Linked DNA regions of Homo sapiens: region 1 is linked to region 2. Evidence: promoter capture Hi-C in human tissues and cell types (Jung and others, 2019). All regions are on one chromosome and are shown on one strand. The core of a region is centred on a gene start or on the middle of the fragment in contact, and the rest is flanking DNA. Distances in the headings are between cores, read along the strand shown. Region 1 holds the start of C20orf173 (chromosome 20 open reading frame 173). Region 2 holds the start of NFS1 (NFS1 cysteine desulfurase).

What was found. Contacts are between HindIII fragments. The study calls those that stand out against the background at their distance.
Region 1: the fragment with the promoter of C20orf173 here is called in contact with the fragment with the promoter of NFS1 in region 2 in 4 of the 25 tissues and cell types used here (adrenal gland, mesenchymal stem cells, pancreas and 1 more).

Annotation. Positions count from the first base shown.
Region 1 is chr20:35,525,233-35,531,239 of GRCh38, reverse strand. C20orf173 (chromosome 20 open reading frame 173) reads left to right here and starts at 1,588. Exons shown (of 6, transcript NM_001145350.2): 1 at 1,588-1,681; 2 at 1,816-2,175; 3 at 2,361-2,539; 4 at 2,696-2,789; 5 at 2,956-3,007; 6 at 3,990-4,261. The coding sequence starts at 1,867. The coding sequence ends at 2,982. The HindIII fragment of the contact is 31,043 bases long and covers 1-6,007 here.
Region 2 is chr20:35,696,559-35,702,597 of GRCh38, reverse strand. NFS1 (NFS1 cysteine desulfurase) reads left to right here and starts at 3,246. Exons shown (of 13, transcript NM_021100.5): 1 at 3,246-3,406; 2 at 4,008-4,117; 3 at 4,798-4,914. The coding sequence starts at 3,310. ROMO1 (reactive oxygen species modulator 1) reads right to left here and starts at 3,193. Exons shown (of 3, transcript NM_080748.3): 1 at 3,142-3,193; 2 at 2,835-2,965; 3 at 1,618-1,800. The coding sequence starts at 2,965. The coding sequence ends at 1,692. It overlaps RBM39 (RNA binding motif protein 39), which reads left to right. Exons shown (of 17, transcript NM_184234.3): 17 at 1-1,251. RefSeq lists enhancers at 2,569-2,788, 2,360-3,019, 3,020-3,679 and a silencer at 3,279-3,468. The HindIII fragment of the contact is 14,345 bases long and covers 1-6,039 here.

The sequences.
Region 1 (6,007 bases), core at 339-2,838, 170 kb after region 2:
GGGCTAAGATTGTGCCACTGCACTCCTGCCTGGGTGACAGAGTGAGACTTTGTCCTAAAAAAAAAAAAAAAAAAAGAATTTGGGTATCATAGGAGTAGGAGGAATTAATAACACATGAGTTCTGGTTTCAATAACTGGGTACGTGGTGGAACCATTTGTTGAGATAGAGAAGTTTTGAAGCTGGGTGCAGTGGCTCACGCCTGTAATCCCAGTACTTTGGGAGGCCGAGGTGGGCAGATTACCTGAGGTCAGGAGTTTGAGATCAGCCTGGCCAACATGGTGGAATCCCGTTTGTACCAAAAATACAAAAAATTAGCCGGGCTTGGTGGCACGCACCTGTAATCCCAGCTATTCGGGAGGCAGAGGCAGGAGAATTGCTTGAACCCCGGAGGAGGCAGAAGTTGCAGTGAGCTGAGATTGCGCCACTGCACTCCAGCCTGGGTGACAGAGCAAGACTCTGTCTCAAACAAAACAAAAGAGACAGAGAAGTTTTGGGAAGGGTTGGTTTACAGGGAAAATCCTGGGTTCAGTCTCAGGCTTATTCAGGTGAGATGTCTCTGAGCCATCTAAGTGGCAATTCAGTAGGCTGTTGGATATGGGGTCTAGAGACTACAAGAGAGGATTGAGTTGATGTCACACAACTCCAGAGAGGGCATCACACACAAGTATATTTAAAGTTCCAGGCTGGGGCGGGGTGCAGTGGCTCATGCCTGTAATCCCAACACTTTGGGAGGCCAAGGCGGGCGGATCACCTGAGGTCAGAAGTTCGAGATCAGTCTGACCAACATGGGGAAACCCCGTCTCTACTAAAAATACAAAAAAATTAGCCAGGCGTGGTGGCGGGCACCTGTAATCCCAGCTACTTGGGAAACCGAGGCAAGAGAATCACTTAAACCCGGGAGGTAGAGGGTGCAGTGAGCCGAGATCGTGCCTCTGCACTCCAGCTGGGGCGACAAGAGTGAAACTCCGTCTCAAAATAATAATAATAATAATAATAATAATAATAATAATAATAATAATTTAAAAATAAAGTTCCCGGCTGGGCATGGTGGTTCACGCCTGTAATTCCAGCACTTTGGGAGGCTGAGGTGGGCGGATCACTTGAGGTCAGGAGTTTGAGACCAGCCTGGCCAATATGGCGAAACCCTGTCTCCACTAAAAATATAAAAATTAGCCAGGCGTGGTGGCGCATGCCTGTAGTCCCAGCTACTTGGGAGGCTGAGGCATGAGAATCGCTTGAACCAGGCAGGCGGAAGTTGCAGTGAGCCAAGATCATGCCACTGCACTCCAGCCTGGACAACAGAGCAAAAACTCCATCTCAAAAAAAAAAAAAAAAGTTCCCTCTCAACCCCTGTTTATTTATCCCATAAATATTTATTAAATGATTCTAAGTCTTAGAGCTGCAGAGGTGAAGAAGAGAGACTAGGTCAGCCCCTGTCCTCATGAATCTTACATCCAGTGGAGGTCATTTCGGTGTCAGAGAAAGGGTAGGGTGGTGGCTTTTTTCAGGCAGGCTAAAGGAGGGAGGTCACAATGTGTACTTTGTGATGAGATCTATGATATAACTGGGATGACAGCAAGGCCCCCACTGAGGTATTCCTTCCCCTCTCAGGACTAGCCACATGCTGTCTCTCTGCCCTGGCCTCTTCCACCCCATGCCCAGTCAGAGACCGTTTTGAGGGTGAGCAAATGGATAGTGAGGCAGGAGAGGAGGGGTTGGAAGGAGGTGGAAGGTGGTGGGATGGGGAGTTGTGGAGGCCGACAGGACAGAGGGAAGCTGGTGCTGTCTGTGGCCTCAGCCCCTCATCCTTACAGGTAGAGAAGCCAGTCTACGGCCCACCACGGGAGCCACCGCCTGGGCCAGACATGAAGCGCTGGCAGATTTTTGTCCTGTGGGTCTTTTGGGTGCTCATCCTCTGGCTGATGACCCCCTATCTGGATCTGACACCTGAATCAGCACCCCAGGAAAAACGAATGTACTTGGTACCACAGCATTGCGACTGCCCTTGGTTCAGTTCCGGGAAGTGTGGCTGCCCTTCTGAGACCCTCAACTGCTCCTCCTGCCACCACACAGCCGACGAATGGAACTGGCTTGATGCGTGCTCCAGGAAGACTATGGGGTACCTGATGAGGACAAGAGAGTCTATGACCTCTGACACTGTGCTCTGGTGGTTGGTCAGTGGTCAACACTGGGCCCGGCCATATCCCCCATGCTTTCCGGGCCTCACCCATCTCCCACTTTCCGCCCAAATCCCTGCCCTTGGCCCTGTCTTCACAGCCTCTGGATGGAGATCTCACCCACCCAGCTCTGTTTTCTCTCCCCTGGGCCCAGCCCCCAATCTCCCTCTTGCTGTTTCCAGGGCATGAACTCAGGGAGCGAGCTTGGGAAATTGTGGAGGAAGCTGTTTAAAGGGATTCCCAGGCTCTCGGTGAGCCATTTTGATTTCTATTGTGGGACTTGTGTGCTGTTGGGGCGCCCACAGATCCCGCAGGGCTCCAGCCTTGGCAACGACATCGACCAATACCCCGTGGTTTTCAGGTGGGTGCTGGGGAGAGGGCGGGAGCAGGAAGGCCAGGCCTGCCCCACAGTTCCATCAGTTTCTGCTCCCCTTCCCAAGATGAAGCAGGCCCCAAGTCCAGGGCTTTGAGATGGACGTGGGGAACCAAACCACACACAATGCTTCATCTATCCCAGGAATGCCAGCGACCAGGGCTCCTGGATGCAGCTGGAGATGCTACTGCGGAAGCTCTCTGACCTGGTGTGGACTTCAGATGCTCTAAGTGATAAGGTGATGGAGGTGTCCCCAGACATTCTCTGTGTGGGGGTGAGGGGAGGTCACTGCAGGGAGTAACAGCAGGGGCTCTGGGAAGACCTTCTATTGGCTTACTGGGGACACTTGCAGGACTTTCCCAGGTCTTGTGGCCCAAACTCCCCCACCTCCAATTCTTTCTCAGATTTTGGAAGATGGTCTGGTTCCCTAGTGGAGTGGAAGATAGCAAAGACACGGTGAGGGGGAATAGGAAAAGGGGTAGGATGTGGCTGTGGGTTGCTGTGGGAAGGGCCCCAGGTCAGTTCCCTCCCCCTTCCTCCCCAGGTGCAACCAGGACAACTGGCTGTCTTACCAGGGTCAGGGTCATCCCTGGGGCCCAAGGCTTTGTTCTGTGTCTTGCACAACTGTGCCCCGGCAGGAAAGATTCTTGTATCTTCTTCTCTTAAAATTCCTGCTCCTCAATGCCTTCAGCATGGAGTCTAAAGTTTTCTGCCTGGCTTTCAAGACTCTACATGTAGGCCAAGCGTGGTGGCTCATGCCTGTATCCCAACACTTTGGGAGGCTGAGGCGGGTGGATCATGAGGTCAGGAGTTCGAGACCAGCCTGGCCAATATGGTCAAACTCCATCTCTACTAAAAATACAAAAAATAGCCAGGCATGGTGGTAGCCTCATCTCTACTAAAAATGCAAAAAATAGCCAGGCATGCCTGTAGTCCCAGCTACTCGGGAGGCTGAGGTAGAAGAATCGCTTGAACCCGGGAGGCAGAGGTTGCAGTTAGCCGAGATTGCGCCACTGCACTCCAGCCTGGTGACAGAGCGAGACTCCATCTCAGAAAAAAAAAAGACTATACATGTTCTGACTCCTCCCCTTGCCTCCTGTCTCCCAGGCTCCCATAATGGGCTCTTAGAATTCCCCAGACACATGAGCTGCCTCATGCCTTCTCTCGCACCATTCCGTTTGCCTGGAATGCCCTTCTCTTACGTCCTGGGGGTTCCCCTCTCTTCCTCCAATACCATGAGGAAAAGTGAGTTGACATTCTCTTTTTTGGGATCCTCAGTGACTCTAGGAGAGTGTCCAGAGTCTGTTTCCTGGAGGTGAGCTCCAGTCTCCTCCCAGCTCCCAGGGACAACCTGTCATCCTAGATGCTGAGTGAAGGGAGGCAGGGGTGAGGACAGGAGTCTGCCTGCTGACGCACATGTCCCTCTCTTATCCACTAGGTCACCCTCTTTGGATTTGGATCAGAATAGCAAGGAAAGTGTTTCTATCACTGGAAGGAGGATAATCAGACCAAGGGCTCCAAGGAAATACTGCCCACGTCTAGTGCAGGAGCAGAAATCGAAGTCATCCATCAGCTAGCGTGTGGACAAGCTCACTATTCACACAAGCTCAGCCTAGCTGAGTCCATACAAATCCTATTTCTGGGTGGGTAAAGGGCAGGAGGAAATTGTAAGATCAGTCTGGTACTGAATAAAATCCTGGCCTGATTGTCTTACCTGTAACCACAGTGTCTGGGAGGGATGGGCCAGAGGTGCCTTCCAGATCTCAGGGGCAATATTTGAGTTGATTTCTTTGCCTAGTGCCCTGGATCATGTAGGAGGTATAAGTTTAGATTCAATTTCATGCCAAGTGCAAACCCAGACTTTGAGTTGTTGGGGGAGGCTCTTTACCCACTTCGATAAAAGAAGTAAACCTCCTTGTTTCACCCATGCCGGAGGGTGAGGGTTGTTTTTTGTTTTTTGTTTTTTTGCCCAGCTTTTCACAGAAGGTTTAGCATTTTGAGGTTCCCAGTTTTTTTAGGTGCCTCAGTTCCAATTCGCTTTTTTTTTTTTTTTTTTTTTTGAGACAAGAGTTTGCTGTGTTGCCCAGGCTGGAATGGAGTGGCACAATCATGGCTTATTGCAGCCTCGACCTCCTGGGCTCAAGTGATCCTCCCACCTAAGCCCCCTGAGTAGCTGGGACTATAAATGCATGTCACCACACCCAGTTAATTTTAATTTTTGTTTTTGTAGAAAGGGGGTCTTGCCATGTTGGCCAGGATGGCCTTGAACTCCTAGGCTCAAGCAATCCTACTGCCTTGGCCTCCCAAAGTGCTGGGATTACAGGTGTGAGTCACTGTGCCTAGCACTTACCGTGTCACTTCTGCAGCATTCCATTGGTCAGATCAAGTCATAAAGTGATCCAAGATCCAAGAAGTGGGGAAATGAACTGCTCTTCCTAATGGAAAGAGCTGAAGAGAATCTGCCATAATGAGACTACCACAGTGTCAAGGGCCCAGTTGTGTTGGCAGCAGTGGTGGCATTCCAGGTGGGCCATTCCTGGGGTAGTCTTTGGCCATGTTTTGCATCTCATGATAGACTGAGCCTGGTTCTCTAGCTTTTGCATCATCCTGTAAACTACTAAATATTTAGCCGGCGAATTGTTTTTCTCTGAAGTTTACCAGTCTGTTGACCAAGACCAAGAATCCAACTGCTACAGTTAACAAAGAATAAAAAATCAGACTTTTGGCTGGGCACAGTGGCTCAGACCCAGCATGTTGTGAGGCTGAGGCAGGAGGACTGCTTGTGCCTGGAAAATTTCTGCATAATTCACCCCTTAATTTGCATGTAGTTAAAAGTGGGTATAAATAGGATTGCAGAGCTGCTGCTGAGCTGCTAACTCTGGGCACACTGCCTATGGGGTAGCCCTGTCCACAAGAAGCAGTGTACCTCTGCTGCTGCTGTGCAATGCTGCTTCAATACAGTTTGCTAACACCACTGGATCGCATCAGGGCAAAGCCAAGAACCCTCTCAGGCTAAGCCCCAATTTTGGGGATTGCCTGCCCTGCATCAGAGGCATCACTCCAGTCTCTACCTCCAACTTCACATGGCATACTCCCCTGTGTCTTCTGTTTCCAAATTTCCCTCATCTTTTTTTTTGAGATGGAGTCTTGCTCTTGTCACCCAGGCTGGAGTGCAGTGGCATGATCTCAGCTCACTGCAACCTCTGCCTCCCAGGTTCAAGCAATTCTCCTGCCTCAGCCTCTCGAGTAGCTGGGATTACAGGTGCCCGCCACTACGCCTGGCTAATTTTTTGTATTTTAGTAGAGACTGGGTTTCGCCATGTTGGCCAGGCTGGTCTCAAACTCCTGGCCTCAAGTGACCTGCCTGCCTTGGCCTCCCAAAATGCTGGGATTACAGGCATGGGTCATCACGCCCGGCCAATTTCCCTCATCTTATAAACACACTAGTCATTGGAT
Region 2 (6,039 bases), core at 1,997-4,496:
TCTGTCAGTGTGCTCTTTTTCCAAAGTATCTCCTGCTATCAGTTTTTCCCCTTGAACCAAGTCTTCCTAACAAATTTGTTGTGTCATTGCTTTCTAGGGAACTGGACCAGCAAATGTGGCCTTTAGTGGTTAATCTCATCTGTGCCAAAATTTAGTTGCTACCAGAGTGAAATTTGGTGTGTAAATAATGTTCAGAGGAAATGTGGTTGGAGTGTAGTAACTTGAATAGTGTCGTGCATAGAAAACAGCTCATTCTGAGTGAAACTGTTTATGTCCAATCAGTTCCTGAGTCAGCATCCCACTGGTTCGAAAATCTGTAACTAATCTGGTAATGTCCTTAATTTCCTCCTGCCTGTCAGTGTTCCAAAGTGTTCATCTAGTTTTCTTTTATCTTTATAATAATTACTACCATCTTTGAAAGTTCTGTTTAAGAAATGCTTAATGGGCAATGCGGGTTAGTAACTCCAGGGTCTGCGTGGCCTGGGCAGGTGAGATGGACAACTGCCTCATTACAGAAGCTTTTTATCATCAAACTAGTAAGTTTTGTGGAGGGCAAGCTATATAGATTGTTGATGAGTGGTTAGAAAATCATCTGGAATTTAGCCAGTTGAGAAGCTACAGAAGTTTCTATTTTTTTTTACAGTGGATGAACTGTTTTGCTTTTTCTGATAAAGCCACTAGGTATATCTAAATAACAACCTCGGGCTGGACGTGGTGCCTTATGCCTGTATATGTGAACACTGGGAGGCGGAGGCGGGTGGATCATGAGGTCAAGAGTTTGAGACCAGCCTGGCCAACACAGTGAAACCCCGTCTCTACTAAGAATACAAATTTTTTTTGTTTTGAGACAGAGTCTCGCTCTGTCGCCCAGGCTGGAGTGCAATGGCTCGATCTCAGCTCACTGCAACCTCCACCTTCTGGGTTCAAGCGATTCTCCTGCCTCAGCCTCCCGAGTAGCTGGGAATACAGGCGCGTGTCAACACACCCGGCTTAAGTTTTTGTATTTTTAGTAGAGACGGGGTGTCACCGTGTTACCCAAGATGGTCTCCATCTCCTGACCTTGTGATCCACCAGCCTTTGCCTCCCAAAGTGCTGGGATTACAGGCATAAGCCACCGCGCCCAGCCTAACAATACAAAATTTAGCTAGGCATGGTGGCACGTGCCTGTTATCACAGCTACTCGGGAGGCTGAGGCAGGAGAAACGCTTGAACACAGGAGGCAGAAGTTGCGGTAAGCCGAGATCGTGCCACTGCACTCCAACCTGGGCGACCAAGGAAACAACCAACCTCAGGATGAACATTGCTTTGGAAATAATGCAATGTGTGACCTTGAGGAAATTTCGGCTTATAAATCCATTTTTTGAAGTAGTTTTTCTCCTTTAAAATGGTGACCGTAGTAACAAGCACAGAGTTGTACTGAGTAATTAGTTGAATAGTATCTATGGAAAATACTAGACACTCCCAAGTTTTCCAATTTTGGATTAAGAGAGGCAGGCCTTGTGAAAGAGATACTAACCCTAGTCATTACGTTAGTCCATCTCTTTAGTGCAGAAGATCCTTGGCAAAGCTGGATAATAGGCTGAGAGAAGAATATTCCTTTAAGAGAGGGACACTGACTACTCAAAGACTTTCTTTTATTAGTACATGGGCTGGGATTGATGGGAAGGGACAGATGTAGTTGGCAACCATGGTTAGCATCGGATGCCCATCCCAATGGCCATGAATGTGCCAAAGGTGCCGCCACTCTGCATCATGGTTTTCCCAATGCCGCCCATCAGCTCTCGACCCCGCATTCCGATCCTGAGGAGGAAACCAAGATGGAGCTATTTGGTAACAAAAATATCAGAAAGAGTATTAACTGCTCCTTTCCAATTTTTTGCTAACACTAGTCTAGCAACCCCTACATCTGATTTTCCACTTACTGGATATTATATCTTACTACCTGGGGTGGGTAATGAGAAGGAAAAAGATCCATCTGGGTCTCCAGGGTATTTTTCTGGTGGATGTCGTATTAACTGCCTTCAGTTTGTGGGAGGCAGCAGATGCAGTGTAAAATACATAGAGAAACCAGCTTTTTTGACTGGTGTTGCCTGCAGTTTAAGACCCAATAAAGACATCTGTCTTTTAGTTTCTTGGTGTTAATGATTTTGGAGTAAGGTGGGGGTTCAAGAGTCAGCTCTACAATTTACACATAGTGTCAAGTGTAAAATGGGCATCTCAACATTATTTACAGGATTTTGAAAACTACAGTATTTAGCACAGTGCTTAACATAGAGTAAGTGCTCTGTAAATGATAATTTACAATCTAGGGATATGGCAATAACAGCCTCTAAATGTGAAAATGACCTTTAGAGTGTAAAGTTTAACTGCTTTATCTCTGTATCCTGTATCCAGAATAGTAAAACCGCTGAACGAGTTTCTTTCCTTATGCGCAATTGGAAAAAAAAATAAAAGCAACAGTAGTAACTAGTTACTGAGCACTTAATATGTGCCAGATGCTGTGCAAAGTGTGCTGATCGAATTTTTACAACTCTATAAGTTAGATGCTACTGTCTTCATTCTACACTTAAGGAAACCCAGTCTCCAACTTGCCTAAAGTCACCGAACCAGTAAGAAAAGGGCCAGAAAGCATTTTGACTCTAAAGCTCAAATTCTTAAGCACTGACGCTTCCAACCTGACTTTACAGATTGAAGGTGGTTTGGAATGAGTCTGGCTCGCGAGGGGACAGAGAGGGAAGTCGAAAGAAGGAGGCTGTGTTCAGGCTCCAGGCCGAATGGGGCAGGGCCGGAAGGTCTGGTTGTCCTGCCCAGAGATCACCGCCCGCGCCCCTCACCTGAGACAGGAAAAGGTGCCGAAGAGCGCCCCGGCCGCCATGCCCACGGCGCAACCCATCACGAAGCCCATTTTGACACGGTCGAAGCAGCTTGGCTGGGACTGTCCGTAGGGACCCACGGCCACCGGCATCTGCGGGGGATAGGAAAGTGTGGGCCCAGGCGCTGGCCCAAGAGTCGGGCGGGGACGGAAGCGGTAGGCTGGGAAGTGGGCCCAAGGGCTCAGGGGAAGTAAGGGAAGGAAAATCAGTGGGTAGCCCGACTCCACCACCCTCTTCGCGTTCCGGCCCCGCGTCGCCCGGCGCCTACCTCACCTCGCTCGCGGGCTGGGTCGCTCAGCTCTACGTCTCTCACGGAAAACGACGGGGAGGGCGCTCGCGGCCCGATGAATCGCTTCCGGAGCGCCGGGCAGCACTTCCGGGAGCCTGGGGCCCAGGACTGCAGCGGCTTCGGAAGGTGGGCTCTGCCAGCGGGACCATGCTGCTCCGAGCCGCTTGGAGGCGGGCGGCAGTGGCGGTGACAGCGGCTCCAGGGCCGAAGCCCGCGGCGCCCACTCGGGGGCTGCGCCTGCGCGGTACGCTCGGGTCCCGCTCTCCGGGAGGCGCGGACCTGTCCCCTCCGCGCGGCGACGCAACTGAATATTCCGGAGCCTTCCTGTCCACCCTGCTGCCCAGACCCTCTGACCCTTCTCTCAAATGACACATCCCTCAAACTTTCTTAGGCGGGTCCCCGAACGGTTGACCCCGGCGCACCACCCCTCGCACCCTGCGCGACAGGCCCCCAGAGCCGTGGAGGCGCGTCCTTCAGACCGCTCCTGGCCAAGTTACAGATGCTGCTCCGGGCTCCCGTGCAGACCGTTACCTTCGGTCAGAAGGGACTGCACCTACTCTGGCTCCACGTTCCTTCTAAACGTCTTTGCCCTTTAGAGCCTTCCTTCCTACGATACCATTTGAATATCAACTCAACACCCCCTCCAGGAACCCTCTCTCCCTCTCCCTTACCTCCTTTTACAGCGTGTCAGGTATCTGGTGTTGTTTTCTTTCCATTGAGATTCGACCCTAGCATCCCTTACACTTATCTCACCTCCAGCCAGATTTTTCCTTCTGCCCTTTGGATGCCATGCGTTCATAGTTGCCTTCGGTCTTACTTGGCTACTCCGTTCCATTTTTTATCAGTTGGAGACCGTGCTCCTCAGTCTGCGGTTCCCGCAGATACAGCCGCTGCCCCGGAGGTGGGGCCAGTGCTGCGACCTCTCTATATGGATGTGCAAGCTACAACTCCTCTGGTAAGGATGAAGCTTTTCCCAAGGCTGCTTATAGGAAGTAAATGATGGGCGTGATCACGCAAAGAAATGGCTGAATCCCTGGAGAAGTGAGAGCCGTGAAGGTGTGCTGGAAAAAGCACTGAGCGAGGAGTCGGGAGGCTTAAATTCGAGGCCACTGGCATTGGCTTTACTACTCACTAGCAATTGACCTTGGTCAGATCACTTCAGCGCAGGCTCTATAGTATTAGTTAAAAGCATGGGCTCTGGAATGAGCAGAACGGCCACTTAGTAACTGTGTGAACTTGGACAAGTATTAAACGGGTTAAAAGACTAATGCAAGTTTTCACCAATGTGTGACCAGGGGTGTTTGCCTAGGCCCTGTCCTGTCCCAGCCCCTTATAGATCACATTACCTGGCAGGAATGGAAACACCAGCAGAAACAGATGTCGGAACAAGGCAGTGTTTGTAGACTACCTGAGGGGAGGCAGAACAATCCGAGTTGGGATGGGTTGTGAGTGGGAGTGTATTAGGTTGATATTTGGTGGGTAGTTTTGTGGGAACAAAAGAATGTTTGAGGCCTCCTCTAGGCAGTGCCTGAGGGGTTGAGAGTGTCTTAAGGCAGGGTGGCCAGGTCTGAGGGGTGGAGTGGGACCTGAATTGACGATGCGCTCAAGGAAAATGATCTGTTCTGTTGTGTTCAGGACCCCCGGGTGCTTGATGCCATGCTCCCTTACCTAATCAACTACTATGGGAACCCACACTCCCGGACACATGCTTATGGCTGGGAGAGTGAGGCAGCCATGGAACGTGCTCGTCAGGTTAGTACACAGGAGTCTAGGAGGTTCTAAGGTCAAAGAGGGGCAGTGGCCTGTGGGAGGCATTTCTTTCTTGGTAGGTGTGCATGGAGGTAGAAATGGTTTTGGATTCTTTCTGGAAGAGATTCAAAGAGCAGCCTTGGAGTTTGACTGCAGGCATTTGATTGGTTCCCATATTTCCTGGCTAAATGACTTGGGCAAGTTATCTAATTTCTTTGAGCCTTATTTTCCTCATTTAAAACAGAGATTGTGGTAGTTTCTACTCTGTAGGGTTACTGGGTGGATTAAATAAGACAATGCTGATAAAGTGTTTATTACCACAACATCTGTAAGTAAGAAGTACTATAAATAGTAAGAGCTCAATAGTTCTTTTTTTTTTTTTTTATGAGATGGAGTTTTCACATTTGTTGCCCAGACTGGAGTGCAGTGGCGCACGATCTTGGCTCACTGCAACCTCTGCCTCCCGGGTTCAAGTGATTCTGCTGCCTCAGCCTCCCAAGTAATTGGGATTACAGGCACACGCCACCATGCCTAGCTAATATTTTTGTATTTTTATTTATTTATTTATTTACTATTATTTGAGACAGAGTTTTGCTCTTGTTACCCAGGCTGCAGTGCAGTGGCACGATCTCGGCTCACTGCAACCTCTGCCTCCCGGGTTCAAGCAGTTCTCCTACCTCAGCCTCCCAAGTAGCTGGGATTACAGGCATGCGCCACCACACCCGGGTAAATTTGTATTTTTAGTAGAGACGGGGTTTCTCCATGTTGGTCAGGCTGGTCTTGAATTCCCGACCTCAGGTGATCCACCTGCCTCAGCCTCCCAAAGTGCTGGGATTACAGGCTTGAGCCACCATGCCCGGCCTAATATTTTTGTATTCTTAGTAGAAATGGAGTTTCACCATGTTGGCCAGGTTGGTCTCGAACTCCTGACCTCAGGTGATCTTTCCACCTCGGCCTCCCAAAGTGCTGGGGTTACAGGAGTGACCCACCACACCTGGCCAATAGTTCATTAAAAAAAAAAAGTTATTATTTTGCATTGGGCTGGAAAAGAGCCTGGGATCTGGGATATAACTAGAATCTGATTCTTGTAGGTGCAGACCTTCATCCAGGGCAATTTGGTGGAATGCA